3 separate regions of the Homo sapiens genome follow, and all the other regions are linked to region 3. Evidence: promoter capture Hi-C in human tissues and cell types (Jung and others, 2019). All regions are on one chromosome and are shown on one strand. The core of a region is centred on a gene start or on the middle of the fragment in contact, and the rest is flanking DNA. Distances in the headings are between cores, read along the strand shown.

Region 1 (4,034 bases), core at 393-2,892, 1.4 Mb after region 3:
GTAGATGCAATTTATAGGCCTTTCTTATGTTCCCAGCTCCTGTGGACCCTGATTCTAAAAGCCTCTCTGCCCTATCCCTACTACTCCCTCCACATTTCTAACCCAGCTCTTCCAAAGAGAGTATATATAGGTACTGTGGAAGCAGAGTAAGATATCCTGCATATAGTAGGTGCTCAATAAGTGCTGAGAGGAATTAAATTGAAGCACTGACAGTTCTTTATCTGGGTCTTAGTCTCATGGAGAATTACAGAATCTGAGAAATGTGCTATCATACCTTGCCTCCTCAATCTAGTTTGTTCTCTTCCACTTTTGTTACCGGAGACTTGGAACTGAGAATGCAACACCCATCCATCCTTGGAAGCCTTCTCCAGAGACAAGCGCTCGTTCTCCCTGGGAACTGTGTAGGAGATGCAGCAGGGAGCCTAGCCCAGCCTGTGCCCGTCCTAGTAGCCTGCACCTGTCAACGCAAGGTCTACGGATCAAACGGAGGGGACTTTCTGATGGAGCCATCCTGGCAGGGCCACTGTGTAAGAAAGAAGTCACATACTTGCAAAATGAGGGTAGTGGCCAAGCGCACTCCCCAAATCCTCTGAAATAACAAAATTATTCATGAACTGAAATAATCACTGCTTTGTATCTTTCCGTTTTCCCTCTTCGTAAACAGCTCTGCTCTTGGTACTCCTGCCTAACCACAGCAGCCCCTAGTGGCAACAAGCTGGAACACGCAAGACTGTTCCGAAAATGTCTCCAGCCCTTCACCGGAGCCGAAAGCATCCCCCACCTCCGCCCTCCCCGCTCACCTTCATGGATCTGATTTTTATTTCTTAGGGGCTGAGGTTAGCCTCTTGGTTTTTCAGCACACACGAATGCACACAAGCGTATGCATATACTGACACTGCGTGGGGTGAGGCAAGACACGCCGGTCAACGGGCCCCTGGGGTGGGGAGAATGCAGGAGGGCTGGTAGGAGCTGGAGGAGCTCTCTTCACACCCCCAAGTCCTCTGGTCCAGGGTGCCCGTGAAACCAGGGCCCAGCTCTGACTCGATTTTTGTCGAGAAGAATCAGCCATCAAAGAGTGAGAGGTGGGATGCCTCACTCAGGGGTTCACCTCTCTGCTCCTATCACATCCCCAGAAGCAGCTGCCACTAGCCAAGGTGAGAAAATCATAATGGCACCCTTGAGAGAGAGCCCTTTATGAAGCAGCTAAATATCCTCTCTTTCCAGGGAATGACTTAACAAAACCTCAAATGACACGCTTGGATGTCAGCTGAAACAACTTTTCTCAAAAAAACCTAAATGCAAAAAAAAAGCTTATTTGAAACAACATCCAGAGGGAGTCCTTGTACACCTAAGCCCAGGTAATGGATTTACGCCCGGACTGCTTTCCCCCGCAGGGAATCTAGTCCCTCCACGATCTCACTTCCCAGAACCAAAGGCTAGTGGAGCACCAGGCCTATTTTGGAAGGGCTGGGAAGGGAGGGGAAAATGGATTTGTAGATGTCTAGTGAGTGCTGAGACTGCTGGGTGCTTCCTTCACCAACCTGAACTCACTTCAGACTCACACAGAAAAAAACATCACGTTAAGAATTCCTCTGGGAGGGAATTGACTCTTAAGAATAGAACTGTTTAACTCTTGATCCTGCCTTTAATTGACTCTGCAAATGTTTAAATGGATTCAAATACAACTGAAACGGAGTTGGGTGATTTTGACATCAATTAATATACTCCGATGAAGTTAGCAGAGGGGACTTTGAGTTAAGTGCAAGGAAAAAAGGGAGGGGGGTGGGAAATACGGCCCTTATACTTTCTGTTTTAAATTATGATAGAGCATACAGGGCTATTCCCCCAGGGCTTATTACAAAGACTCAGAAGATGTTAAATCCACTGGGAAAAGCCCAAAGCTCTGGCTCCTAAAGGGAAATGTGAGTTAGTCAATGCAGACACCGTAGATGATTTATTGGTTATTGTGTGTGTTTTTATGTGTGATATTGGGCTCTGTGCTGTGTGCCTCTCAGCTGTTTGAGGGACAGATGTCAGGAGGAGTAGTCCAGGCACTCACGGGTTAACTCAAGCCCTGATCCCAAGGGACCCAGGCATTTTAAGAGCAGAGCCTCCTCCAGTCATGGCCTGCCCTTACTTCTAAAACCTTGAATGTGAAAAAAGACTGTCCCCCTTCCATCTGATGCGGGTGGCTGAATGTTTTCTTCAGCCAAGTCCCAAAATGAGGCACACGTTAGCTGTTTCCACCCCCTCACCTTTCAGCAGCCTGCGTCCACTGAAACGGCTTTTGGGGAGCTCACTGGAGTCCTCTCCACATCCAGATTCCCTAGCCTCTTTCCCGGTGTCCTGTGGGGTCAGGACCCTGTCTGAGCTGCGGTCCTTGCTGAGCTCCTGAGACGTGGCTTCTGCTCAAGTCTCCTCTCCTCCTCGGCTCTTCCTCGAGCCCTTCCAGCCAATCCCCTGAAAGTGTTGATGCCCTTTCTGGTTTAGGACCACTCCTTATACCAAACCAGTGTTCACTTCCCCTTCATTCATCCTACGAGTATCTACTGAGAGCCTACCATCTACCAGGCATTCTTCCAGCACTGGGGATACAACCGTGAATTTAACAGACAAAAGTCTCTTTTCTTATGGCCTTAGAGTCTAGTGCCAGGGTTGGCAACACTTTTCTGTGAAGGACCAAATAGTAAATATTTCGGACTTACAGGCCATATGGTCTCCATGGTAACTACAGCTCTGTGGCTGCAGCTGTAAAGCAGCCATAGACAAAACATAAACAAATGGGCATGGCTGTGTTCCAATAAAACTTTATTTACAAAAAAAAAAAAAAAAAACAAGTTGTAGGAAGGCGGAGGGCTTTGGCCTGCTGGGAAAGACATGTTCTCTTTCTGCTGAGATTTTTCTTTTTCTTCTTCTTCTTCTTCTTTTTTTTTTTTTTTTTTTTTTTTTTTTGAGACTGAGTCTTGCTCTGTCGCCCAGACTCCAGTACGGTGGCACGATCTTGGCTCACTGCAGCCTCCGCCTCCCGGGTTCAAGGGATTCTTCCGCCTCAGCCTCCTGAGTAGCTGGGATTACAGGTGTGTGCCACCACGCCCAGCTAATTTTTGTATTTTTAGTAGAGACGGGGTTTCACCATGTTTGGCCGGGCTGGTCTCAAACTCCTGGTCTCAACTGATCCACCCGCCTCGGACTCCCACAGTGCTGGGATTATAGGCGTAAGCCACCCGTGCTTGGCCTCTGCTGAGATTTCTAAACTGACAGAATGAAGCTCAGGGGCCATCTTTGCTGCGACACAGGGAGAAGGTGCCTGAGAATTAAGCCATCCTGGGAAGGCAGAGTGGAGAATCCTCATGGCATTCATGACATTTTTTTTTTTTTTTTTTTTTGAGACGGAGTCTCGCTCTGTCACCCAGCCTAGAGTGCAGTGGCGCAATCTCGGCTCACGGCAAGCTCCGCCTCCTGGGTTCAGGCCATTCTCCTGCCTCAGCCTCCCGAGTAGCTGGGACTACAGGCGCCCGGCGCCACGCCCGGCTAGTTTTTTGTATTTTTACTGGATACGGGGTTTCACCGTGTTAGCCAGGATGGTCTCGATCTCCTGACCTCGTGATCCGCCCGCCTCGACCTCCCAAAGTGCTGGGATTACAGGCGTGATCCACCGCGCCCGGCCTCATGACATCTTTTGACCCCCTGGATTCAACCAGGTAATCATATATAAAACGATGTATACTTTCGTCTGTACCTTTGGTTATTTTGAATCAATAAACATTTCTCCCTCCCCGCCCCCCCCCTTTTTTTTTGGCTTAAGCCGGTTGATTTGGGGTTCTGTCACTTATAACCAGAGTCCTGACTGATACCAAACCCAAACCCATTCTTGAACTCCTTTTCTCCTTTCTCTATGTGTTTTCCCTGGGCAATATCATCCACCTGCCTGAGTTTCTGCTGTCACCTCTGTGTAGATAACCCTGACATATTTTTTGTTTTATTTTTGAAATAATAAAACAGGATCTTTAGAGTAGAATTTTTTTTTTTTTTTT
Region 2 (4,006 bases), core at 274-2,773, 1.4 Mb after region 3:
AACTTCTGCCTGGAAAGGAGAGCCCATGCCAAACTCCTCTCCAACCTTAGTTACCACTGTTGACTTTAGGGGCCAGATCATTCTTTGTTTGAGGGGGCTGTCCTGTGCATTGTAGGATATTTACCACCCTCCCTGGCCTCTACCCCACTAGATGTCGGTAGCACCCCCTCCTGGAGGTGTGACAAGCAATGATGTCTCCAGACATTGCCAAGTGCCTCCTGGGGGCAGATTGGCCCCCAGCACAGAACCATTCATCTAGTACCCACAGGTCTCATGAGTCCAAAAAAAAGCCAGCCTTTGGCTCTCACAGTAAAGAACACTGAATCTTCCTTTGCTACTGCTCCTTAAATGAGCTGCCTTCCTAAGAAATCTGATCATGGCCAGGCGCAGTGGCTCACACCTGTAGTCCCGGCACTTTGGGAGGCTGAAGCGGGTGGATCACCTAAGGTCAGGAGTTCGAGACCCACCTGGCCAACATGGTGAAACCCCATCTCTACTAAAAATACAAAAAGTAGCTGGGTATGGTGGCGTGCACCTATAATCCAGCTACTCAGGAGGTTGAGGCAGGAGAATCGCTTGAACTCAGGAGGTGGAGGTTGCAGTGAGCCAAGAAGGTGCCACTGCACTCCAGCCTGGATGACAGAGCAAGACTCTGTCTCAAAAAAATTAAATAAATAAATCGAAATCTGATCATGGAGATTTGGAAAATAAAACTGACAGTCACAGCAGCCAGGACTTGGTAGGGAGGGGAAATATGATCTTCACGAAGGTCCTCCTGTGTTCTAAAATTACAAGCCTCCCTCATCATCCCCATTTAGCCCAGGAGAAGCAGACCACGGTGTGGTCTCCAGGCAAGAGGCCACATTCCCTGGCCTGAGGAATTTATGCCAGCTTTATCTATGAGATAAAAACACAGCTACATTTAATGCTGGCATCCCACATTTTGCCCAAAGCACTTCTGTTTTTTTTAATTTGAATTCCCTTCATTTCCATATCATTCCTGAGATCAAAGAGTTCTGCTAAGAGGGTTTTCCTTTCATTTTGGAATGAGACACAGAGCTCTCCCCCCAGGATCAAGGAAGCTCCCTCCTAGAGGTGGGCAAGATGCTGAGACTAAAGATGGTTTGACCGAAAGAAGCCTTTGCAGTATGGGCCAGAGGTCTTCCCTGATACTGCACGGTTCATCCAAGGTCAAATCAACCTCTGCTGCTCTTGATTACAAGCCTGAAAGAAGTAGCTGTGTTCGGTCATTGTACACTTGATTGGGCGAGTTGGGAGGGTGCCCAAAGGCTGAATGATAACAGTTCTAACAGCTTGGACAGCTCCAGCCCTCATGCCTCCCTCCCACTAACTGCCCAGCTCCCTGTCTTATCAGCTGATTTTTCAGATGGGGAAACTGAGACACCATAAGCCTGTTCCAGTCCCATAGCCACAGCACACGCTCCAGCTCCAGGAGCTCCCGGGGAAGCCCCCTCTGGTCAGCAAGCCCCCAGTTCACTCCAGAGATATGAGGCAGATTTGAGCAGCTTTGTTCTGCAAGCCGTCACCAAATCTGCACCTGGGTTGGATTTCAGTGGTTTCCTTAGAAGAGCGATCATCCACCCCAACCACTAAGATGCTTGCCTGTGGGCCTGGGAGTAAGAGCAGAGGGGATAGGCTCTGGAAAAGCCCCGGGCCGCAGTTCTGGGGCTCTAAGTTCCATTCTCCCTGACAAGGCACAGCAGGACCAAGATCTTGTGCCACCTGGTGGCTACCTGCCTCTTCCAACTTGCAAAAAGTTGGATAAAATGACACGGGAAGGTGGAATCTAAGGAGATGGACCTGGTGTGAAGATGGCTCCTGCCTGAGGTCATACTGCGGCTCAGTCAGTTTCAAAGACCGAACCAGGACCAAGGTTATGATTCCCCTCATGAGGACTCCTGGAGGGACAGCCATGACCCACATCTGTCAGGGATGAGGCATCCCCCTCCAGATCCCCAGAGCCCTTGGAGGACAGCCCTCCCTGCTGCAGGGTGTCTCCAGGGATATTCCAGGTGCAGAGCTAGGGCTGCCAGGTTTAGCATCCAGACTGGGCCAGAGCCCATTCTGTCACCTCATGAGGGTCTTGAAGAAATCCAACCTTGTCCTCCATCCTAACTCAGAAGAAGAACTAGGCCAGAAGAAGAACTAGGAGCTCTTGCCCACACCAGCCCAGCATGATGCTTCCTGGAGGTGCTCAGGCCCACTCAGAGGAAATCCAGACAATCCCCATGCGCAAAATTCGGATGCCTGGAGCTTATTCCGGGACCAGAACTCTAGCCCTGGGCAAAGGTGAGCTCAGGCTAGGGGCAGCATCACAGCAATGGGAAAGCTTGGTTTTACAGGGTCTTCGAGGAACACCCTCTTTAGGCTGGTCCTCCTGGCCACTACTGGAGGGTCCTAAAATGCTGGCTGCAGCATCCTATAGCCATGGCAACTTTATTTGCTGCTATTGCCCCTCCCTCTCCACCCCAGCTTGACTTACCTTTGCAAAGACCTGCTTCCTGCCCCCAGACCAGGCCCTTATGTAACATGTTCTCTGCAGGTAGCAGGAGAGTAAAGAAGACGGGACACTTGCTCTCCTGCTCCAATAGGCCTTTCAACATAAGTCAATCCCAAGGAATCTCTCGTCGGGCAAGGAGACACCCACGTGCACGCATGAACACACACGTGCACACACATGCACTGCCCCCCCTTCCCCCACACATCTCTGGGGATTCCCTACAAAGAAGAGAGAGGGAGATGGTCTGGAAGCAGGGAAACCTGGCCTGGGAGGAGGAGGTTCTTGGATTCCCATCAGGCAATCAGGACGCCTTATGTGAGACCAATGCAGTGAGGGCTGTTCCCACTCTGCCAAATTCTTAAATTCACTGAGGTCAAGCCCAGTCGCTTTCTTCAGTGAGATTCATGCTCCTTAGCCTGAGACAGTGGCCCTGAGCAGAGAGAGCTTCCCCAAAGCCTCAGCCTTAGTCCCAAAGTCCTGGCTTCAAGCCCCTTTCCCCTGGGGTGTGATACCTGGGGCATCTGGGCCCCTCATCCAAGAGGTCTACCACCCCCTGACACCCCCAGTCAAGGTATCCCTGGCCTCAGGCTTGCCCAGAATTGCTGGAGTAAGGGTGGGGCCGTCATTGTTTTCCCTGGCTCCCCATCTTACCAGGCGCCCAGAACTTGGGGAAGGGTGCCCCAATCCACCCACAGGCAGGACTCAATTGCTTCTAGAGAATCTACCCTCTGGTGCAGGAAAAGTCTTGGCCCCACTGAGGCCATGCATGGAGTGGAAGAGGTGGGCCTCCTGGGAGCCAGGAAGGCTGGGGAATCATGAGTGTCTCTTGCATCCCTGGCTCCCTCCCCACATTCCCAGCTGAAGACAGGCAGATATAGGCAGAAGAGGAGGCTCTGTGAGCATCAGATCCCCAGCCACACCCATCCCGTGACCTCCTGGATCCTGCATGTCCCATCACCTGTAGCTGGTGGGTCACCAGGACGACTGTCTTTCCCCTGAGCGTCTTCTTAATGCACTCCTCAAAGACGTGCTTCCCCACGTGGGCGTCCACGGCCGACAGGGGGTCGTCCAGCAGGTAGAGCTGACGGTCGGAGTAGACAGCGCGGGCCAGGCTAATCCTCTGCCTCTGCCCCCCAGAGAGGTTGAGGCCCCGCTCCCCAATCTGTGGACAGGGACAATGCTACTGCCCATTGTCAGCCCACCCTGAAGTTCTTGGGCAATGGAAGCTTCCTGGAGCTTCTCAGGACTCAGGGGAAAGACGTACACACTGATCCTCGCCATATCCAAGTTCCTCCGCCCCTTACAGGGCCCCCGGTCACACGAGACTCTGTGGTGAGTGGAAGTGCTCCACTTGTCTACCTCTCCAGGAAGCCCAGTGGGCAGCGGCAACGAGGGCAAAGCTCTTTCCCATGAGGATTGAGGGGTGCCCATCTCACAAGACCCCAGCCCAATGCAGATCCCACAGGGAGGGGCTACGTCATTTTT
Region 3 (3,809 bases), core at 1,016-3,515:
AGCAAAGATCATGAACTGATCACTTGGAAAACTACTCTCCACTGAAACAATGTGCTTTTCTTTCCTCTTCTATGAAACAGAGATGAGAGTACACCACTGTTATGAAGAACAAATGAAACCAAAGCTCAAAACGTGCCTACTACTTAGCAATAAGCACTTAATAAGTGCTATAATTATTATTCAGTTTAGATACAAATAATTATCTCCACTTATGTTAGAAACCTATTGTGGTTCAACCTCCCTGCTTATATGCTGTAGATGTAATCTGACAGTACAATGTAAACCAAATGTAACGCTCATTTCTTCAAACAAAGGTACAGAATATCACGTTAATGAAAGAACTATTTTAAAAATGATGACATGGCATACATTGACAACTGAAGTAGAGAGAAATAAGGATGATGAGGGCATGACAACTTCAAAATATAATTTGAACACCAAACGGCTCTAACTTCATTTCCAATACATATCCCCAAGAATCCTCTGATGGAGCACACTGAACGTTTTGGCTTCATCTATTAGCAATACCTTTTCTTTCCACCTGGAGAATTTCTTTCCACCCTCTTTATAGTCTCAGTTCACGTTACTTCCTGTAGTCCTTCCCAAAATCCCCAGGCAAAACTATCCCTCCATGACCCCAAAGCACTGAGTTGACAATGTTAGTAAAGCAATCCACACACTGTATTACAGTTAAGTTCTACAAGCGTGTCTCCCCCAGTAGCCTCTTAAGTTCGACATTGGTACCCAGGGCCACAGTCCGTGACACTGAAGGCACACAAGATGTTTGATGAATTGAAGTGGATTCTGGAATTTTAGGGCTGGGAAGGGCCAAAGGGGCCGCCAACACTTGCTTTCGGATGCAAAAGTGCGACACCAAGAAGACTAAGCGAGCTGCCTAAATTATAGACAGTGACTGTGAAAGAACGAATACTCAAGTTTCCTTTCCCAATAAAATTCATGAGGACAAGACTGTGTGTCTGGCTGATTGCTCCCAACTGGTTCACCCAACAAAGAATCGGAGTGTGTAATACATCCTCAATTAAGTGTTTTCCATTACAAAACAATATAAATGTCAATCCATAAACGCTGGAAACACACAAATCCTAAAGTTAAATTTTGCGCCGGTCTTGTATCAATTCCCAATTATAAAAATCCTGAGAAACAGGCAAAATCACCTTGTACGGCAACACGTTATATGAAAATAGTATTTGTAAAACACTTAATCCTTTCTGGCATTAAGACATTTAAAGTGAAATCTGTTTCCAGGCTTACAGATTTACAGAAGCCTATCTACACAGAGTGAGTAAGGTAATTAAAGCGGACATACAGTATATACTCAAAAAATTTATTTACACAGTGCAGGCTATGTTAAACGCTAATAAAATGCAAGTGACAACTTGCCTTTGTGGGAACCAGACACAAAGATTCACATTTTGAGGAAGTTCAAGTTTACCGGCCAACAGCCACACCACGATTTGCTGCCGTCATAGACGGGCCCTAAGGAGAAGTACTGCTTCCAGCAAGTCAAATACTTGGATTTTATCAATGGCGAGACAAAAGAGGCAAGGTGCGCCCAATGCACAAATGCTAAAGTAAACAATCAGTCTCCTTTGCGACCGTCAGGATTAGAAGACAGCCTGAGTCCTTCCAGGAAATTCATGTAAGCAGGTCCCCAGAACTCGCTGACAAACACTGCAGCCGAAGGCGGGTATGAGGCCAAGAAAGGCCAAGGAATCACTGCGACCCCTCCAGGAGGGCGTGGGGACGGCCGAGCACAACTAGGCACAAAGGTAGAAACGCAACATCTGGGCGGGTCCCGGCGCCACCTCCGAGTCTCAGGGCCTCCACGCGCCCCGGGGGCCAGACGCTCAGACCTAGGACTACCGGTCCCCTCGTGGTAGGCAGGTGACCGATTCCACTTAAAGGAGGCCGCAGGCCTTCATGGACCCCAAAGCCTACATGCCAAGTCAACCCCACAGAGAGGCCGCCCCGTCTCTCAGCAACGGCCGCAGCCAAGAGCCGCCGCCCACCCCGGCCCGGATCAGCCTGCCCGCGGCCTTCCTCCTGCTGTCCCCTATCCCGCAGGCCAAATCGGGCTGGTCTTAATCCCGAACGGTCTGTGGGGCCCCTTCTCCACTCGCTGGAGTGCGGGGCGGTGGGAGAGAGCAGGGGCTACAAGGAGGGTCGACCCAGGTGCCACTGCCCCCTCAGCACTCACCATGGCGACTCCCCAGAGCCTGCAGCAAGCAGCACCCGCCCCGCGCGTAGCCTCCCGCGGTCATGTGACGCTGCGGCCCCTCCAAGCCCCGCCCTCTCTAGCCCCGCCCCCGGGCCCTACAGGCGGCTCATTGATTGGCCTACTTCTAGGAACCCGAGTCTCGCGTGCTTATTGGCCCTGTCACTTAACGCTAGATGGACGGACCTGAGCGCCAGCCAATCTCACCACAGCGTGCGAGAGTGGGCGGAGCAGTGCAGGGCAGTGGGGATCGCCCGGCGGCAGGCAGGAGACAACAGGAGGGAAAGGCAGTGTGTGATGAGTTTGTCAAGAAGGAATGGAAGGAGGGGGAGCCGACAAGTCCACGTTCACCGCATCTGCGTTGGCGATTGCGCTATTGATGCGCATGCGCAAAAGGAAGACCCTGATTGGTTTGTGGGACGGTCTCAACGTCCTGTCCTAACCAATCCAGATGCGCCGGGGGTGGGGCCTGGCTCTCACTGGCCGGTGCAGCCTTTGCGCGCGGGTTTCGTTGACCCGCGGCGTTCACGGGAATTGTTCGCTTTAGTGCCGGCGCCATGGGGTCGGAGCTGATCGGGCGCCTAGCCCCGCGCCTGGGCCTCGCCGAGCCCGACATGCTGAGGTGAGTTCGGCCGCGCAAGACCAGGGCTGGGCTTCCGCCTCGCGGCCCTGGGCCCTCAGGTGAGGCCCGCGCCCTTCCCAGGCGACGGGCGGCGGGGGAGTGACGGGGAGCGCTGGGGCCGGGCGGGGTTTAGGGCCTACTTCAAGAAAAACTTCTCGGCCGTGAGCTTGAATGAGATGGCAAGAAGGGCGATAGCAAACGGCGATGGCACACGTCCCTGGGAACAGCCAGCCCTGTCCGTGGGTAGAAAAATGAGCCAGGGAGAACTTTCCGTTCATTCCGCCAACGCCTACTGCAGTCGGGTTTATAGCGGGGAACCCGACAACGAGGCGCAGACCCCGCTGTCTGTAAGGGCGAGGACTGTGTAGACCTTAACCGGGCAATGCTCCTGAGCCACTGGGCTTGGGGTGGAGCGCGGCCTAGCGGCTGCCTTTAACACAAAGAAACAAACAAAACTCGGAAAAGCAGGCGCCGTTCCCGCTGAGGCCGGATTGATGGCAGATGCTAGGCGAGGAAAGATATGGCAAGAGCAGCCCAGGCAGGGGCGACAGCTCCTGTAAAAGCGTTGAGATGGGAAGCGGGATCCGGGGTTCGAAATAAAGCCATTGTAGCTAAAACGTGGAGCAGTCAGGCGAGGGAAGGCAAGGAAAACAGCACTTAAAAGATTTGAAGACAAACCTGCAGGACTCGGTAGTCATTTAGAACAGTGGTTCTCAAAATGTGGTTCCTGGACCAGCAACAGCCATATCATCTTGTCACTTGTTAGAAATACAAATTCTTGGGTCCCACCTCAAGCCTGCTGATCAGTAACTCGGCCTGGGACCCAGTAATTTGCAAGTCCCCAAGGTGATTTTCGCCTACCATCAAGTTTAAGAACTACTGATTTAAAGGAAATAGGAGGAAAGGAGGAACCCTGGTCTAACCTGCCTGTCTCTGATAGTTCGTGCTTGT

Evidence for each region. The method cuts DNA at HindIII sites, captures the fragments that hold promoters and counts their contacts. A contact is called where the count stands out against the background at its distance.
Region 1: a contact is called between a fragment that was not itself captured here and the fragment with the promoter of VPS35 in region 3, in 1 of the 25 tissues and cell types used here (lymphoblastoid cells).
Region 2: a fragment that was not itself captured here is called in contact with the fragment with the promoter of VPS35 in region 3 in 1 of the 25 tissues and cell types used here (lymphoblastoid cells).

Annotation. Positions count from the first base shown.
Region 1 is chr16:48,054,504-48,058,537 of GRCh38, forward strand. No RefSeq gene overlaps it. Among named protein-coding and RNA genes, the nearest start is that of LINC02134, 91 kb to the left of the region's middle. The HindIII fragment of the contact is 6,796 bases long and covers 1-4,034 here.
Region 2 is chr16:48,111,936-48,115,941 of GRCh38, forward strand. It overlaps ABCC12 (ATP binding cassette subfamily C member 12), which reads right to left. Exons shown (of 31, transcript NM_001393797.1): 15 at 3,480-3,683. Among named protein-coding and RNA genes, the nearest start is that of ABCC12, 42 kb to the right of the region's middle. The HindIII fragment of the contact is 3,050 bases long and covers 1-3,048 here.
Region 3 is chr16:46,686,913-46,690,721 of GRCh38, forward strand. It overlaps VPS35 (VPS35 retromer complex component), which reads right to left and starts at 2,266. Exons shown (of 17, transcript NM_018206.6): 1 at 2,219-2,266. The coding sequence starts at 2,221. ORC6 (origin recognition complex subunit 6) reads left to right here and starts at 2,747. Exons shown (of 7, transcript NM_014321.4): 1 at 2,747-2,858. The coding sequence starts at 2,794. RefSeq lists enhancers at 1,737-2,434, 2,435-3,133, 3,371-3,450, 3,501-3,570 and silencers at 1,971-2,020, 2,171-2,410, 2,731-3,030. The HindIII fragment of the contact is 11,418 bases long and covers 1-3,809 here.